Regions from separate parts of the Homo sapiens genome. Here region 1 is linked to region 2. Evidence: promoter capture Hi-C in 16 types of primary human blood cells and fetal thymus (Javierre and others, 2016). All regions are on one chromosome and are shown on one strand. The core of a region is centred on a gene start or on the middle of the fragment in contact, and the rest is flanking DNA. Distances in the headings are between cores, read along the strand shown. Region 1 overlaps LRRC20 (leucine rich repeat containing 20). Region 2 holds the start of SAR1A (secretion associated Ras related GTPase 1A).

Region 1 (3,681 bases), core at 375-2,874, 160 kb after region 2:
TCCTGGATTATGGAACCTTTGCAGAAACAAAATTCAAAGCCAACATGATAGCAGGAATCAAAAGGGAAAATAAGAGAGGGTCAGTGCAACTGTGACACATGGATTGCAGGAAGCCAGTCAGAGCCAATGATGCCAACACAGTCTCCACTTACTCAAAAAATATTACTCAGCACCTACCACAGGGCAGGCTCTGCTAGACAGCGGGAAATCGTGGCAATGAGACAGACTAGATCCCAACCTTAACAAGCTTACAGACAAGTGCAGGGAGAAATAGTAAACAAGAAAAGAAGGTTATTTCAGATCGCTAGGAAGGCATTTGAGGTCAGAGTGAAAAAAACCAGTTCGGCAAAAAGCCCAGGGAAAAGCTATCTTCTTCTTCTTGTTGTTTTATGGCAGTGGTTAGAACTTTAAGGATGAGAGTGGACATCCTTGCCTTGTTCCCAGCTTGGGGGAAAGGCTTTCATCATCAAGTCTGATGTTAGCTGTAGGATTTTTGAAGATGCTCTTTACCAAGTTGAGGTAGTTTCCCTGTATTTCTAGTGTACTGAGAGTTGGAGTTTGTCAAATGCTTTTTCTTTGTCAAATGATATGATTGTGTGATTCTTCTTTTGCCTTTTTTTTTTTTTTTTTCGAGATGGAGTCTGGCTCTGTCCCCCAGACTGGAGTGCAGTGGCACGATCTCGGCTCACTGCAACTTCTGCCTCCCGGGTTCAAGCGATTCTCCTGTCTCAGCCTCCCGAGTAGCTGGGATTACAGGTGCATGCCGCCACTATGCCCAGCTAATTTTTTGTATTTTACTAGAGACGGGGTTTCCCCATGTTGCCCAGGCTGGTCTCGAACTCCCGAGCTCAGGCAATCCACCAACCTCAGCCTCCCAAAGTGCTGGGATTACAGGCGTGAGCCACCTCGCCCAGCCTAGCCTTTTCATATAATAGATTACACTGATTGATTTCTAAAGTTGGACCCAGACTTGCATACCTGGAATAACTGATAAATCCCACTTACACATGTCATATATTCTTCTTATACATTGCCGAATTTGACTGGTAATATTTTGCTGAGAATCTTTCCATCTGTGTTCTTGGGAGATATTGGTCTGTATTTTCTTTTTCTTTCACATTTTTTATACTGTCTTTGTCTGCATTTGATATCAGAGTAATATCAACTTCATAGCATGGATTGGGAAGTATGCCCTTCCCTTCTATTTTCTGGAAGAGGCTGTGTAAAATTGATGTTAATTCTCATTTTAAAAGTTTGATAGAATTCTCCAATGCAATCACCTGGGCTTGGAGATTTCTTCTTTGGGATCTTTTTATTTATGAATTCCACTTATTTGATAGTCATAGGTCTCTTCAGGTTGTCTGTTTCATCTTGGCTGAGTTTTAGTGGTTTGTGGTTCTCAAGAACATGGTCCATTTCTTCTAAGTTGCCAAATTTATAAGAATAAAGTTGTTTATAATAAACCTGGTAGGTTTTGAGTGGGAACCAAACCATGGAGCTGCTTCTAGGCCCCCTCCCCAAGGGAGGGCAAAGACAGCAGGTTCCTGGGGATGGATGTCCCACCCCTGTCAGTCACCCACTTGTCCAACCCCTAGGGCTTTATGAATGTCAATGTATGTGCCAAATTCCACCAAAATTGTTAGAGTAAATCTCCAGGTAGCCAAATCTGAGCTCCATGGGAAGGAAGCATTCCACAGAAAGGCCTTGAATTAGACAGAATGGGGCATGCATCCTGATGGGGTGGGGAGGCACCGGCAAGAGAGCAAGTTCTTCCCAGCCATCCAGCTTCACTTCTCAGAAGCCACGGCCCAGCAGGGTCTCTGAGTTGCTTCTGCTCCCACTGTGGTTTCCACTGCTCTACCCAAGCTGCCTGCGTCACAAGCTCCACAAATCCTCTGTGCGGTAAGGTGAGGTATATATACACAACCAGTTAAAAACAGCCTCTTAGCATTAGCTGAGAAGCAGGTGACCACACCACCTGCTTCCATGGCAAAGAGCCTGACCGGGGACCCGGGGACCCTGAACTGAGGTCTCGCCCTACATCTTCCTGGAGGCAGGTCAGAAAAGCCACTTCTCCCTTCTGAGCCTCAGGGTCCCCATCCGTGAAGACGTGGACTTGGGGATCTCTCCAGTTCTGTTCTCACTGAAATTCCTTGTGGAGAGAGATTCCTATGACTGGACCATCATCCTGACTACTTGGCCAGAGACCTCTCTTGTCTACAACTAAGCCCCCCAGTGTCTTCACCATCACTGTATCAGAAGCATCACTCATCAAGAATCTTGCATGCACCAAACCCTACACAGGGCACCTTATAAGCAATATCTCCAACCTCACAAAATCACTATGGAGTAGATGTTTCCCCATTTCTCAGATAAGGAAACTGAGGCCACGAAGGCCAACTGGGGCCAGCAAGGCTGCTGATGCCTTGGCTTTCTTTTTATCTCTTATATGGCCCCAAACCAGGCATTTAAGGTTTTCTCTGTTGTTTCCAGTTCAGAGGAAGAATAAAAGTGTGGCCAAAGCCCCAGCCACGGGATCGGCCAGTGTGTTGGGCTTCCAGCCCAACACAGCCACAGCCACGTCTGGCTTTGCTTCTCACCTCTGGAGTCACAGCACCCAGGCCATCTGCCCAAGGTCTTACTGCCCCCTCTTCTGGACAGAGAGGGCTGAGATCTTCTGGTCCCAGAAGACTGCATTAGGGGTTCCAAAGATTCTTCCTGCACCAGGCCAGGGTTCAGAGTGGAACAACCAGGGCTCCCAGGATGGACCGGGGCTCTGGAAAAAGATCCCACTCCATTCCACTCCCAACGTTGTACCCAGCCTGAGAGCAGCCCCCATCATGACATTTCCTTATTGATTAAACCTACTGAACTGTGGTTTCCGGTGTCTGTTAAATGGACCTCTTCTTCCCCAAGTTCCTCTTATTACTTCCTGTACCATCCTTATCTTGGACAATTGCCAAGGCTGACTCAGAGGCCTTAGATTAACCCCAGCTGAGAGAGAAGCTTGCCAATTCCATTAGGGGACAGACAAGGCTGGCCTGCAGTAATTATACAACCCATGCTCGAAGGAATGTGCCAACTCCAAAAATACCTGCTCACCAAACCTCAATCAGCACCTCGGCTCTGAACCTGCGGCAATGAGCAATCACAGTCCCTGACTGCACGGACTCCCCAGCAGGGCAGAGTCAGACGGTCAGGTGGGCAGTGTCCTTCCACCAGCCCATGCTCAGTGCTGAGGAGGCTTCACACAGAGACAGCTGCTGCCCACAGGGGTCAGAGGGCATTTCCAGATGCCACACTCACTCCTTGGGGGTGGACAAGGGGAAGGGCAGAAAAAGCACTTTTAACAAGGTCTGGAACAGACTAAAATGAAGTACTAAACATTCTGCCTCCATAAAAAGACTAAGGCAGGCCAGGTGCAGTGGCTCACGCCTGTAATCCCAACACTTTGGGAGGCTGAGACAGGCGGATCACTTGAGTCTAGGAGTTCAAGACTAGCCTGGGCAACATGGCAAGACCCTGTCTCTACAAACAATACAAAAAATTAGCTAGGTTTGATGGTGTGTGCCGTAGTCCCAGCTAGTCGGGAGGCTAAGGTGGAAAGATCACTTGAGCCCAGGAGGCAGAGGTTGCAGTGAGCCGAGATTGCACCACTGCACTCCAGCCTGGGTGACAGAG
Region 2 (3,680 bases), core at 405-2,904:
CTGTCTCCAAGGCTGAAGTGCAGTGTTGCCATCATGGCTCACTGCAGCCTCAACCTCCCAGGCTCAAGAGATCCTCCCACCTCAGCCTCCTCAGCAGCTGAAAATGGCCTTGGTGGCTCCTCTCTCCTTAAGATCTTAGGATTTGTACCAACTCATCAGTAGTTTTACAATCTGCACAGTACTTGTACATCTCATTTCATCCCCACACCAACCCTACCAGGCAAGGATCACTGGCCTCATTTAACAAGATAAAGATGAGGATACTCCTAGTTTTGCTGAGTCCTTTAAGACGGCTCAGTTGAAAAAGTAATAGTGCCAGGGCTTAAACCCTCATCTCTAACACCAAAGCCTAAGCTCTTCCTGTTAACAGTACATAAAATTCAAACCCAAACCACAAAATTGCTGGGGAAAAAAAAAAAAACTAAAACTTCTTTAACCCACCAACTACACAGAGGATGATCTTCCGAAGTTCTCTTCCTTACAACTCATCACATCTTTTGAATGGTATTTTAATAACTAGCATTCTATTTATTTTCTATTCTTGGTCCATTGTACCACCTTACGAGAAGTTAAGAGTAATCTAAAATTTAAGGTAGGTCTCTAAACTATCAACAAAACACTATTAATGTACCTAAAATGAAAACTTGCGAATTCCAGGGCTAAATGATTCAAACAAATGTTAATAGAAAAGGAGGGCACCAATCTGACCATTAGCCAATTTAAAAATTTACGCATTACTTGTTATACATAATCAGGGCAACTTTAAGACGCCATTCCAGGCAGATTTGGGGTAGTAGGCGGCTGGCTTTTAGCTAACTCTGCTTAGCTGCGGGGTAAATGTCAAAGGTCAGCCCCATGGCGAATCTCCCTAAGCCCCCTGTCGCAACCGAAGCCGATGGAATCAACAAGACAAAGATGCTCCTGACCCACTGGCTAGAATCGTGAAGAAAACGCTAATCCATGTCAAATGCACATAAGGAAATTTTTCCATGCAGAGACCAGACAGGGGAAAAGGGGAAGGGAGAAGGAGAAAATACAGGGTTCGACCCGGGCCATCGGAAGACAACCAAGCGCTGACTTGGGGGTAAGCCCTGGACTAGGGGCCTGTAGACCAGGTTCGAGCGCTCACACTCGCTAACTGCGGAGCCTTGGCCAGCCTCAGTCTCCGAGTCTACAAAACAAGGATAATCATAAAGGGCTCCCACCCGCCTCACCGAGGGCTGTGAGGCTCTTCCGAGACAGAGGACATGGAGCCATTTCGTAAACCGGAGCGCACGGTACAGACAAGAAACTGTTATCCGGCCCAGCAGCTGCGAGACCCCCGAGCGGAATGCAAGTGGACCCCAGGCAAAGAGGACAGCAGGGGACGGAGCAGATCTGGCCAAGTTGTCCCGTCCCCGCCCAGAATCAGCCCCGCGGCCCCACAGAACCGCCTGCGTGTCACTTCCCCCCCACCCAACCCCGCCAGGGCCAGCCTCCGCTCCGACCTCCCCGCCTTCCGTCCCAGCCCCTCGAGCCCCAACTCCCCTCCCCGACGCGACCCTCAGACTCACGGCCTGAGGGGCTCCTCCGGCAAAACAGCGGCTGGCTCGGACCCTCCCTCAGAGCACACTAACCAGCAGCACCCGGGACCGCCAGCTACTCGCCGGATGTACGTCACACCCCTCCCCGGGACTTCCGGGCGCGTAATGGGCCCCGCCCCCTCACAGCGTTACGCCTCTCTGCCCCGGTGCCGTCCCACCAGCGACTCGGGCCGCGGAGGGGCGGGCATAAGGCGTGACAAAGCGCGCTCGGGGTCTGGCCCCGCCTCGGCCCCGCCTGCTCCCGTCTGGCTAGCTGACCGCGCGAGACGTGGCAGCGCCGGAACCCTGGGTCCGGGGCTGGGTCCTGGAGTCCCTGAGCGGCCTGGTACACTCGGGATCGCGGCTTCCCATTCCAGACGCACCAGGAAAGTCAGAAGTGGGTACCGACGGTGACATAGGTCCTGGGAAAGATGAGTTGACCTTGGGGCCCTCCACTTGAGGTGGATCCCTCCAAGCTTTTGCTTTTTTTCTTCCTTGCTTTTTTTTTTTTTTTTTTTTTTTTTGAGGCGGAGTCTCACTTTGTCGCCCAGGCTGGAGTGCAGTGGCGCGATCTCGGCTCACTGCAACCTCCACCTCCCGGATTCAAGCGATTCTCATACCTCGGCCTCCCGAGTAGCTGGAACTACAGGCGCATGTCACCACACCTGGCTAATTTTTTTGTATTTTTACAGAGACAGGTTTCACCGTGTTGGCCAGGCTGGTCTCGAACTTCTGACCTCAAGTGATCCGCTGGCCTCGGCCTTCCAAAATGCTGGGATGAGAGGCGTGAGCCACCGCGCCCAGCTGCTTTTGCTTTGAGTCGCACTTCCTTGCCCTGGGGTGGCCTATGTTTTAGAAAAACAGAAAAACAGCTAATATTTATTGTGCACTTATGTTCCAGGCAGAGCACTGGGTACTTTGCACGCTTTGTCTAATTTCACCGTCATTGGAGTCCTGTGACTCCAGATGCTAGTATTATCCTTATTGACAAATGAGAGAGCAATGTTCAGAATAACCTACCATGCCCAAGTTCACACAGCTAAGTGGCAAAGCAACGTGTTCACCCCAGTATATTTCGCATGCATTTTCTCATTTAATTCTCAGGACAGTCCCACGAGATTGGTACTATTATTACTCTCATTTTACAAATAAAACAGTCTAATGGAAAGATGAATGACGTCTGTGGGTTCATGAAGATCTCAATTCTCCTTTAGTAAAATTTAAATTTAACATAATCCCAATAAAAGTACTAATAGGATTAATAGGTCGTGTGTGGTTTCGTTCTTTTTTTTTAATTACCCTATTTGTTCCTAAAATTCGTATAGAAAACCAAACAAAACTAGTCCAGAAACAGGCTTTCAAAATGAAGAACAAGGAGGTGGGAACTAACCCTGTTGGATATTAAAACATATTATAGAGCCTAAGTTATTAAAACTGGTGTGCGTGCACATGCACAAACACACACACACAAAAAACACAATGGAACAGAGCAAAGTACAGAAATGACTAAAGTACATGCAGAAATAAAACTAAAGTAGCACCTGGGACTCCAGCAATACTCAGGGAGCTGAGTGGGCAAGCTCACCACCCTCTACCCTCCGCTCATCCTGGGGTCTTAGATGTTGAATTTGAACCCTGTCCTGTCACAGAAAGGTGTCAGGCCACTTCTGAGGCTTCTCACCAGCTTTAGCTAAACCAGGGACAATGTGTCCATGGGGCTTGGAACCCCTTGTGCATCCTGGAGACACAGATGCAAGCCCAGTGCAAGCCAACACATTGGATTACTGGCTTTGTTGAGAGCCTGGCTGCACGAGGTGGAGGTGTCTGAACCACAGGATGGCTTGGGAGGCTGGGGAAGGAGGGAACATGCAGGCAGATTCTCAGAAAAGCCGCAAACTCTACTTACCTAAAGGCTTGAGCAAGTTGACGAATGCCCCAGACCACCATGTACCCACTGTAAAATGGGTGAAACAGGCATTGTTGTGCACATAGTTTTTCCAGAGTACTGTTTTCAATAAATGATTCTGTTATGTGTTGTTAAATAAATTAATAAATAATAAAAGGGGTTGAGACAATTGGGTAGTCAAAAAAACCTACAGGTTGAATCTCCAAAAGTTT

What was found. The method cuts DNA at HindIII sites, captures the fragments that hold promoters and counts their contacts. A CHiCAGO score of 5 or more calls a contact.
Region 1: a contact is called between a fragment that was not itself captured here and the fragment with the promoter of SAR1A in region 2, in 1 of 17 cell types (monocytes). The highest score is 7.0, in monocytes.

What each region holds. Positions count from the first base shown.
Region 1 is chr10:70,328,949-70,332,629 of GRCh38, forward strand. All of the region lies in intron 3 of LRRC20 (leucine rich repeat containing 20), which reads right to left. Among named protein-coding and RNA genes, the nearest start is that of NPFFR1, 47 kb to the left of the region's middle. RefSeq lists an enhancer at 2,805-3,099. The HindIII fragment of the contact is 2,759 bases long and covers 246-3,004 here.
Region 2 is chr10:70,168,860-70,172,539 of GRCh38, forward strand. It overlaps SAR1A (secretion associated Ras related GTPase 1A), which reads right to left and starts at 1,655. Exons shown (of 7, transcript NM_020150.5): 1 at 1,554-1,655. RefSeq lists enhancers at 621-1,279, 1,280-1,936, 2,070-2,149 and a silencer at 1,580-1,939. The HindIII fragment of the contact is 7,469 bases long and covers 1-2,036 here.